2 separate regions of the Homo sapiens genome follow, and region 2 is linked to region 1. Evidence: promoter capture Hi-C in human tissues and cell types (Jung and others, 2019). All regions are on one chromosome and are shown on one strand. Each heading gives the region's core, a stretch centred on a gene start or on the middle of the fragment in contact. The rest is flanking DNA. Distances are from core to core; before and after follow the strand shown.

Region 1 (5,390 bases), core at 2,358-4,857:
GGGTAAGTGAAACCTCCATTTCATCACTGAACATTTATCTATATTTCTTGTCTATTTCTAGAAAAAAATGATGCTTACCTGTTTATTAATTTATTCACTGGATTTCCCTTTGCAATTTCTTAAGCTTAAGTCTAAGTAAAGCAACCTATAAAATCTAAGGTCAGATTACAGGCCAGAAAAGCCACCTATTCTAGAGTCCTAAAGCTGGGGTCCAGGGATAGATATTCACAAATGAGATTGGCAAAGACAAATTTAGTGAAACTCCATGTAAAATTGTGTGAGATTTTTTATAGTACATTTTCCACAACAGAGAGGGTCTATAGCAATAGTGAGGTTCTTAAAACAGTCTGTGATATTAAAAATATTATCCATTGATTTTCAAATCTATCATACTATGAATGAAATGCTGTGAAACATTCCATTTTCTTATTAAATGCCATTGTACAAAAGGTCCTATTTTAGTGTCACCCCAAAATCTACAGACAGGAAGTTCTTTCTTAAGTCTATCCTAATCTGTTGGCAGCTCCTCCCCATGGAAGCCCTTAGTAAATTCGGTGGAAATAGCAAACAGCTGCTCACCAACACCCACCCCAAAGAAAGAACAAGACATTTCTCACATATCTCAAGCTGCCTTAAATGTTCTTTCTTTGGCAAAGAAGAAAAAAAGAAATATATTTTTGGCCTCTAAACCTTTTCCCACCCGTGTGTATTTCTGCAAAAATGTTATCCATATGGTTTTGATTGCATTCTCCATAAGTCATTAGAAATGCTTTGCACTGAGAACTTTTCTGATGACCAAGGTGTCTTCGGAGACATTTTAAAATGGCCCTCTTAGCCTTTCTTCATAGAAACAGGAAAGCTAAACTGAGCCAAATGCAAATGAACTAAGACCTGGAAAGGTTGGCATTTTATTCAAAACTCAGAAACCATAAGGCTCGAGTGAGCCTTAAATCTGTCCATGCAAAGTCTTCACCTCCTTCTCCAGGGACAAGATACACTAAATCATCCATTGGGATGGGACACAGATAATGCAATGGATCCAGACATCTAAGTTGATATTTAGGGTTGGGTGCAGTGACCCCATAAAATTCCAAGAACTTCCAATCACCCCAGGGCTTCCCCATTATTCCCAGAGGATAAAGATTTTGGACTTGGACTTGGGTGTTGAATTCCTGACTCCATCACCTACTAGCTATATTTTGGCATATAGCTAGTTTGGCATATACTCAAGTTTTTCAAGACTCAATTTCCTATGCCATAAAGATGGGATAGTATTATCTATTCATACTGCAAAGTATTTTCAGAACTGTAAGCAATAATATTCAGAACATTGCAAATAAAATGCTTGGTGCACGGTAAAAGTTCAAAATTCTCTCTCCTCTTTCTCTCTGTGTAGTATTGGTTGGAACTAGAAGAGCTCTTTTTTTCTTTAGGGAAATATTGACTGGGTGGGGTGAGGAAGAGAAAGACTGGACAGTATTCCAAAGCATTAAGTCCCCACTTTCTAAGGTATGTAGACCACAACCCATCTTGGGAGATTGATTACAAGGAAAGGGTTAAGAAGAATCAGTCAGAACTTTGGTCTTCACCTGAAGTTGCCTGACTACGTTGTCTCAGATTGATTTCAGAACTGCATTATCAGCAGGGCAGCTGTTGCCTACTAACAGTCATGGAAGTAGATCTCAGCTGGGGGATGATGGGGAAACAAAGAGAAAGATAGGGACGAATAAAGGAAGGAATGGGGCACAGACAGAAAGAGAGAGAGAGAAAAGAAAGAAAGGAGGAGAGGCAAGAGATAGTGACCTGGGGTTTCATACCGCGGTGGGTGGGAGAAGGAGTGTGTGTGGTGGGCGTATTTCTTCGTGGTCAGAATCAAAGTCAGAACTGACCTGGGGAACCTGTGTTCAAGACCTGAACCTGGACCAGAAGCCAAGGGAAAGAGAAAGTTGCCCAAGAAAAAAGGGAGAAATTTCCACCAGGCGAAAATAGAAATCGCTGACTGGGTTTGTGGCTGGAGAGCTGTCCGTGGTGCTGACTCCTCCTCATTGGGATTCCAGTGAAGGCTGAGAAGCTCTGCACTGGCTGCTCCTCCTCTCCCTTTCCTCTCCCCTCAGTCCTGACCTTCTGAGACCCAGGATCATTCTGGCTAGCTCGATGTCTTCTCCTCTCTTTCTCCCTTTCTCTTTGTCGATTAAATAATTTTTCCCGAGTTCCCAGTTCATCACTCAAACATTTCTCTTCCATTTTGTTTCAAGACTCCTCTTCCTCCAATTAGTTCACTGGCTCCTAGATTGTTCTAGGCCTCCCTGGTGGTCACATCTCTCTCTTATCATCCTTTGAATTAAAAAACAAACAAAAAACATACAATGGCAATCATAAAAGCAGACAACATGCACTGAGCACTCACTAGGTGTCAGGGAGCAGTCTAAGTGCCTTTGCATACATTAACTCATGAGCAGTCTAAGTGCCTTTGCATATATTAACTCATTACAATTCCACATCAACCCTATTAGATGGGTAGATATATTATTATTCTATTAAACAGACAAGGAATTGAGGCTTAAGGGGTAAGTGATTTCACCAAGACCAGACAGCTACAGGACTCCAACCTCTCTGGAGCCTGCACTTCTACTGAATCTGGCTCTTTTACATATTCCAACACCTTTTCCTATGACTTCCTGCCCCTCCATCTGGTAGCCTTAATGCTTTCTATTCTTGCCTAATCTTCAGGGGACTAGGGATCTGCATTGCTGATTTGGTTTAAATCAGAAGGGAAGCAAAGTAAACAAACATACCAAATGTGCGCTGTGTGGGAATTATCATACGAGGGCTTTATTTTCTGCTTCAGGAAGAGGCCCTATGTTAGCAGCCCCAGCCTGCATTCAGGCTGATTGCAGAGTATTTTGCTTTTTATTTTCATGTCTTAGTCCCTGTACCCTCGCCCCTTCCCCGCCTCTGGTGGTCTCCAGAGAACTTCGTGTCCCCTCAGCTTCTCCCTCCTACATCCTGCCTACGTAGAGAAGCTCTTGCTTCATTCTGGGAGGTTACGTGGGCTCTCGCCTACACACCGAGAGAAACAAACAGTGTCAAACACTCACAGAGAGACGCGCAGACACAAACGGACCCACACGGGCAACTCCCGAGACAAAACCCACACTCGATGGATCCACGCGGCCGTGGAAACACCTGCCGCCCCAGAAACACTCAGGTACTCGCGACACACACAGTACAGTCACGCTTAAGGGCACCAGGATTCCGGGTTTGCGCGTATGCGCGGTCCCTTTGGATGCTCGTGCGCATAGACACAACACCCTACACGCCCCAGACCCACGAAACTCCCTACGGCTCAGCCCCAGCCCACCCGGGCCGCCCTTCCCTCGAGGCGGCCTCCCGTCTCTCCTCCTCTCGCTTCTCCTCCTCCTCCGCCTAAAGATGTACAAAACACTCCTCGGAAGCAACCCCGGCGTTCAGCTCCTCCCTCCCCGCCCCCCGGCCGCCGCTCCCCCATTCATTTTCGGCCGTCGCCGGCTAAGTCCCTCCCCCGGCGTAGCCCGGCCTCCGCCGCTCCCCGCCCGGAGACCGCGGCGCACTTGGACTTCCCTCTCCATTCGCCAGCCGCCTCGCTCCCGGACCCCACGGCTGCAAACTGATCTGGCGCGCGGGGAGGAGGAGAGCGCAGGCGAGCGAACCCGCGAGAGAGGGAGAGAGCGAGCGAGCAACAGCGAGAGCGAGAGCGAGAGAGCCGGGAGGCAGAGGGAGTAGTGACCGCCTTCCGGAGCCGGGATTCATGCCTGTCCTCGGGACCAGCGAAGGGGACTTTACGGCTGAGTATGAGCCAGGCTGCTAGGAGCCAGGTACCCCCACGCCTGCAGTCCCCGCGCCGTGCCCGGAATGCGAGCTGCACGCAGGGCTCTCCCAAGTTCCCACCGAGCCGAATAAAAAGCGTCCTCCCGCAGCTCTCCGCCAAAGACGGACATTGACTCCAGGTAAGGCGGCGCCGGGTGCAGCGCCCCGCAGCCCCGCTGCCCTTGGACCCGGCCCCGGGCCGCATTCGGGGCGTCCCCGCGCTCCTCTGCCCCTCCCCCTACCGGCACCCTTGTCCGCTCTTCACCTGGCCGCCCCGCCGCCTCCAAGTCTTCTCCAGTTCTAGGGAGGGGGTTCCTGTGCCTGGGGCTCAAAGGGCTAATTGCGGGTTTGAGTGAGTGGCGTGTGTGTCCCCGCGCGCTCCCGACGTGTGCACCATGGTGGGAACTTGATGTGGTGCTAGTGTGTTTGCGTGTGCGGCGTCGTTTGCGTTTGATGCGTGTGTTCGTGGTGTGTGTGTGTGTCCGTGTGTGTAAGGGAGGGGTGAAGAGAGAGAGGTCCTATAACCTACTTACGGCGCGATGTGTGTGTGCATGTTTGTACGTATGTGTTTGTATGTGTGCCCTCGTGTGTCTTTTTAATTAGGTCTCTCCAGCTTACACGGAATGGGACCCTTACTATAGGATCACGTAGTCACCGGGAAACCCGCTGTGGACTTCCTCTTGGGGCTCTGGGCTTGGGGTTTGGGGAGGATTATGGGGCTGTAGATGGCACCTTATTTAGCCCAATGTTGGTACGCTTGAAGGAAAATTCCTCCAAACGGTGGAATCCTGCTACACTGGGACCCACAGCTTAATATGAAAGAGACATGGCCAACCCCCGAGGCAAATGAGACGCTGTCACTTTAAATTCTACACTGGGCAGACTCCAAGATTCTGATGGGAATTTGGAGACACTGGATAGTGGGTGACAGAGAAAGGGGGAAGTCAGCGGTGGGCTCCTTATCTGGGGCTTGGAAAGTCTGGGATAGGGATTTACCCTGCATCCCCGTTTGCAATCAACAGAGCCCCTCCGGCTTCTGTTGGTTTTGGGGAGGATCTGGCAAGTTTGCATGGATCCCCCTCAGGGGAAAGGAGAAAGCGTCCTCGGGGACTTGCTCATCCATCACAGTTGCAAAGGGTCTCAGAGGAAATTTCATCTGGGGCGGCTGTGGATGATATGGAAGGAGATGGATGGGGCACTTTCCTAAGACAGATTCGTCTTTCTTTCCCCATTTCAGGCGGGGAAGCCCCCAGAGAGTCTCTCCCTAAATATGCCTCTCCATGGCTCCCCTGGAGTTAGGGGGATATTGAGAGAAGGCAGAGAGGTGGAGAGGGAGAGAGAGAGAGCAAGAGCGAGAGAGAGGGAGACAGAGAGAGAGAGTGTTTCAGTACTGAGGGAGATCTACAATTTGAAAAGGGGCTGTGAGTGTGGAACCCATGACAGAATGTGGCAGTAATTGACTTAAACTGCTGTCGGTTTGCACCTCGCGTCTCTCACTTGGCTCCAAAATACTGCCAAGGGCAGGGGGGCGGTGGAGGAATCTC
Region 2 (5,121 bases), core at 406-2,905, 53 kb after region 1:
TTAAATTTTTTTCTCTTTCTCAGCTTTGCTTTATCTTTCATATTCAGCTGGAAAAGTAGACAAATGAGGTGTCATATTTAATCATGTATATAGATGGGTTTACAGTTGACAAATTGTTTGTGTCCTCACCACATTTTCACATGGAAGACATAAAAATCTGAGGTCTTGAGAGGGGACATGACTGTCCACAGTCATGCAGCTGAGCGAGAGTAGCTAGTTTTCTAAAGATCATTTCCAGTTAAAGGCTTACAGCCCAATGAACAAGACAGACATAGAAACAAATACAGGCATATCTCAGAGATTTGTAGGTTGCGTTCCAGATGACCACAATAAAGCAAATATTGCAATAAATTGAATCACCCCAATTTTTTGGCCTCCCACTGCATATTAAACTTATGTTTACAGTATCCTGTAGCCTATTAAGTGTAGGATAGCAGTGTGTCTCAGAAAACAATGTATATGCCTTTATTAAAAACACTTTATTACTAAAAAAAGGCTAATGATCATCTGAAGTTTCAGTGAGTTAAAATCTTTTTGCTGGTGGAAGGTCTTGCCTCAATGTTGTTGGCTTCTGACTGATCAGGGTGGTCAGGTTGCTGAAGACTGGGTGGCAGTGGCAATTTCTTAAGTTAGACAACAATGAGGTTTGCCACATCAATTGACTCTTTCTTTCATGAAATAATTTTGTAGAATGTGATGCCGTTTGATAGTATTTTACGTAAGGTAGAACTGTTTTCACAACCAGAGTCAGTACTCTCAAATCTTGCCACTGTTTTATCAACTAAGTTTACGTAGTATTCTAAATCCTTTGTTGTCGTTTCAACAGTGTTCATAGCATCTTCATCAAGAGTAGACTCCATCTTGAGAAACTGCTTTCTTTGCTCATCCATAAGGAGCAACTCGTCATCCGTTCAAGTTTTATCATGAAATTGCAGCAATTCAGTCATATCCTCAGGCTCTACTTCTAATTCTAGTTATCTTGCTATTTCTGTCACATCTACAGTGATTTACTCCACTGAAGTCTTGAACCCCTCATGATCATTCATGAGGTTTGAAATCAACTTCTTCCAAACTCCTGTTACCGTTGATATTTTGACTTCTTCCCATGAATCACAAATGTTCTTAATGGCATCTAGAATGGTGACTCTTTTCCAGAAGTTTTCCAATGTGCAATGCCCAGATCCATCAGAGGAATCCCTTTTTATGGCAGCTATAGCAGTATAAAATGTATTTCTTTTTTCTTTATTTTATTTTATTTTTTGAGATGGAATGTCACTCTGTCACCAGGCTGGAGTGCAGTGGTGCGATCTTGGTTCCCGGCGACCTCCGCCTCCCGGGTTCAAGCGATTCTCCTGGCTCAGCCTCCCAAGTAGCTGGGACTACAGGTGCGCACCACCATGCCCAGCTAATTTTTGTATTTTTAGTAGAGGCGGGGTTTCATCATATTGGCCAGGATAGTCTCGATCTCTTGACCTCATGAAATGTATTTCTCAATAAGACTTGAAAGTCAAAATCATGCCTTGATCTATGGGCTGCAGAATAGATGTTGTTTCAGCAGGCATGAAAACACCATTAATCTCCTTGTATATCTCTGTCAGAGCCCTTATGTGACTAGATGCATTGTCAGTGAGCAATAATATTGAAAGGAATCTTTTTTTCTGCACAGTAGTTCTGGATAATGGCCTTAAAATATTCAGTAAACTATGTTGTAAACAAATGTGCTGTCATCCAGGCTTTAGATCACAAGCAGAGTAGATTTAGCATACTCTTAAGGGCCCTAGGATTTTTGGAATGGTAGGTGAGCATTTGGCGTCAACTTAAAGTCACCTGCTGCATTAGCCCCTAACGAGAGACAGTCTGTCCTTTGAAGCTTTGAAGTCAGGCACTGACTTCTCTCTAGCTATGAAAATCATCGACATCTTCAGATATAAAGCTATTTTGTATACATTGAAAATAGGTTGTTGGCCGGGCACGGTGGCTCACGCCTGTAATCCCAGCACTTTGGGAGGCTGAGGCGGGCAGATCACTTGAGGTCAGGAGTTCAAGACCAGCCTGGCCAACATGGCGAAACCCTGTTTCTACTAAATATACAAAAAATGAGATGGGCATGGTGGCGTGCACCTGTAATCTCAGCTACTGGGGAAGCTGAGGCATAAGAATTGCTTGAACCCGGGAGGTGGAGGTTGCAGTGAGTCAAGATTGCACCACCGCACTCCAGGCTAGGCGACAGAGCAAGACCCTGTCTCCAAAACAAGAAAGAAAATAGATTGTTTAGGGTAGCCATCTTCATCAATAATTGAAGCTCGATCTTCTGGATAACTTGCTGCACCTTCTCCATCAGCATTAGCTTCTTCACCTTGTACTTTCATGTTACAGAGATGGCTTCTTTCTTTAAACCTCAGGAAGCAACCTCTGCTGGCTTCAGACTTTTCTTCTGCAGCATTCTCATCTCTCTCATCCTTCATGGAATTGGAGAGAGTTAGAACCTTACTCTGAATTAGGCTTTGGCTTAAGGGAATGTTGTGACTGTTTTGACCTGCTACCCAGACCTCTAAAACTCTCTTCATTCAACACTAGGCTGTTTTGCTTTCTTATCATTCATGTGTTCACTGGAACAGCACATTTAATTTCCTTAAAGGACTTTTCCTTCACATTCACAATGTGGCTAACTGGTGCAAGAGCCCTAGCTTCCAGCCTATCTTGCCTTTTGCCATGCCTTCTAGCTTTTGATTTAAAGTGAGAGATGTAGGACTCCTCCTTTCACTTAAACAATTATAGGTCATTGTAGGTTTACTAATTGGCTTAATTTCGGTGTTATTATTTCTCGGGGAGTAGGCAGGCCTGAGGAAAGGGAGAGAAAGGGAATAGCTAGTCAGTGGAGCAGTCAGAAAACACAGGTTTATCGATAAAGTTTGCCATCTTATATGGGTCCAGTTCATGGTGCACCCAAATAATTACAATAATAACATCAAAGTTTGCTTACCACAGACCACCATAACAGATACAATAATAATAAAAAAGTGTGAAATATTTTGATAATTATCAAAATGTGACACCAAGACACAAAGTGAGCACACATTGTTGGAAAATTGGTGTTAACAGACTGGCTAGGCTGAGGGCTGCCACAAGCCTTCGATTTGTTAAAACTTTAATATTTGCAAATCTCAATAAAGTGAAGTACAATAAAATGAAGTATGCCTGTAAGCATAATACAAGGTGATAAGGGCTAAAATGCAGTTACAGAAAATGAGCAACTATAGCTCAGAGGAGTAAACAAATAACGCTTTTTTAAATTAATAAAAAAAGAAAATGACCTCTGAGGACATGATCTCAGCTGGCTATTGAAGGATTTAAACAGGGTTTGGCCAGGCAGTGGGGATCAGGTGAACAAAAACACTGTCATAGGGAATAAGTTGACATCAGTATCGACATTCATCATCATTATCCTCATCATGATACGTGACATTTATTGAGCACTTACTGTATGCCAGGCACAAGAGGGAGCAATTATGTCGTTTAATTGTCATCTTGGTTCTGAGTGTAGGTGCTATTATTAACCACATTTTGCAGATAAGGAAACTGAATGTCAGGAAAGTTAAATACATGACCTGAAATATTACTGTTTCTAACAGATACAAAGTGGATTTAAAGCTGCCTTTCAATATGGAGTAAGAGAAGCTCTGTTAGAATAAGTAGGGTGGGGTCACATACAGTTAAGCGAGTAAGTAGACTGACAAGGAGGGCGGATCATGAGGTCAGGAGTTCGAGACCAGCCTGGCCAACATAGTGAAATCCAATCTCTATGAAAAATACAAAAATCAGCTGGGTGTGGTGGCACGTGACTGTAGTCCCAGCTACTTGAGGGGCTGAGGCAGAAGAATCACTTGAACCCTGGAGGCGGAGGTTGTAGTGAGCTGAGATTGTGCCATTGCCCTCCAGCCTGGGTGAGAGAGTGAGACTCCGTCTCAAACAAAACAAAACTAAACAAAAAGTGTAAATTGTGTTTACAAAATTGGCATGGCCTTGTGATTTCTGGTCTATCCTCTCCACAAGGTACCTCTCTACCAAAGCTACCCCTTAGGCTTAAGCATTTCACCCTCGCAGCACCACTGTGCCATAAGACCCCCTAATAAAAGAAGCATGCGAGACCCCCTGACAAAATGACCGCCTTCAGTTTTCCTTTTGAACCCTGGGCAACCTTTGAGGCTGAGTCACCAAAAGACAAATTCTCTGGCCATGTTTCTTTGGGTTTGGGAGACATTCCATTGAACGTTGCAGAAGTGAACTGTAAGCAAGCTCCATGAACTCTTCGTCTCTAAAGTATTCAACCTAGATAGTCATGATAATCCATCACAAGACTTTGTGCATTCATCTGTTCATGCAAAAGCAAAATGTGTGCTCAGTGGATACATGCCTGCTGAGAGAAGGAAAAGGAACTCTTGTTTATTGATACCTCTTTATGAGAGGCAGGTTGTTAGTGAAGACAGAAGAGGGTACACTCACTTGAATTGTGTCCCTATGTCTCTTACTGGGTGTATGAGACTCTGTTTCTGCATTAATTCATTTATTCATTTTTTCAACACATCTTCCTTGAGCATCCATGATGTGCCAAGTGCCAAGATACAGGCTCGTAAGCTCACCCTCAGTTTTACTTCCAAGAAAACTGCATCCATAATAGACCAAACAGTTTGTACATGTTCAGACAATATGTGAACAGCAAAATGGGAACATGGGCCCAGATTTCCATAGATTCTATGTTTTTAACCAGAACTGTACTGGGTTTTATAAACTTTAAAGCACTCTACTGATATAAGGTATTATTATGAAGATGTGTTAATCACATTTTTTCTTTTCCTGTGTCTTTTTCTTTTACTCCTCTTCCCCTCTCCTCTCTCTCTTTTGGTTTCTCTTTTTTTCTCTCTCTTTTTTATTCTTTCTTCTATAGGACTCCACAGAATGGAGCAAGAATGAGAGGAAAAAGGCCGGCAGAAAAGCATGAACTGGAGGTTTGTTGAGCTCCTCTACTTCCTGTTTATATGGGGCCGTATCTCAGTGCAGCCCTCCCACCAGGAACCAGCTGGGACAGACCAACATGTCTCCAAGGAATTTGATTGGCTCATT

What was found. Contacts are between HindIII fragments. The study calls those that stand out against the background at their distance.
Region 2: a contact is called between a fragment that was not itself captured here and the fragment with the promoter of BRINP1 in region 1, in 1 of the 25 tissues and cell types used here (liver).

The regions. Positions count from the first base shown.
Region 1 is chr9:119,367,652-119,373,041 of GRCh38, reverse strand. It overlaps BRINP1 (BMP/retinoic acid inducible neural specific 1), which reads left to right and starts at 3,607. Exons shown (of 8, transcript NM_014618.3): 1 at 3,607-3,986. RefSeq lists enhancers at 2,643-3,163, 3,164-3,686, 3,687-4,208. The HindIII fragment of the contact is 11,628 bases long and covers 1-5,390 here.
Region 2 is chr9:119,313,230-119,318,350 of GRCh38, reverse strand. It overlaps BRINP1 (BMP/retinoic acid inducible neural specific 1), which reads left to right. Exons shown (of 8, transcript NM_014618.3): 2 at 4,946-5,121. The coding sequence starts at 4,996. Among named protein-coding and RNA genes, the nearest start is that of BRINP1, 54 kb to the left of the region's middle. The HindIII fragment of the contact is 6,268 bases long and covers 1-4,789 here.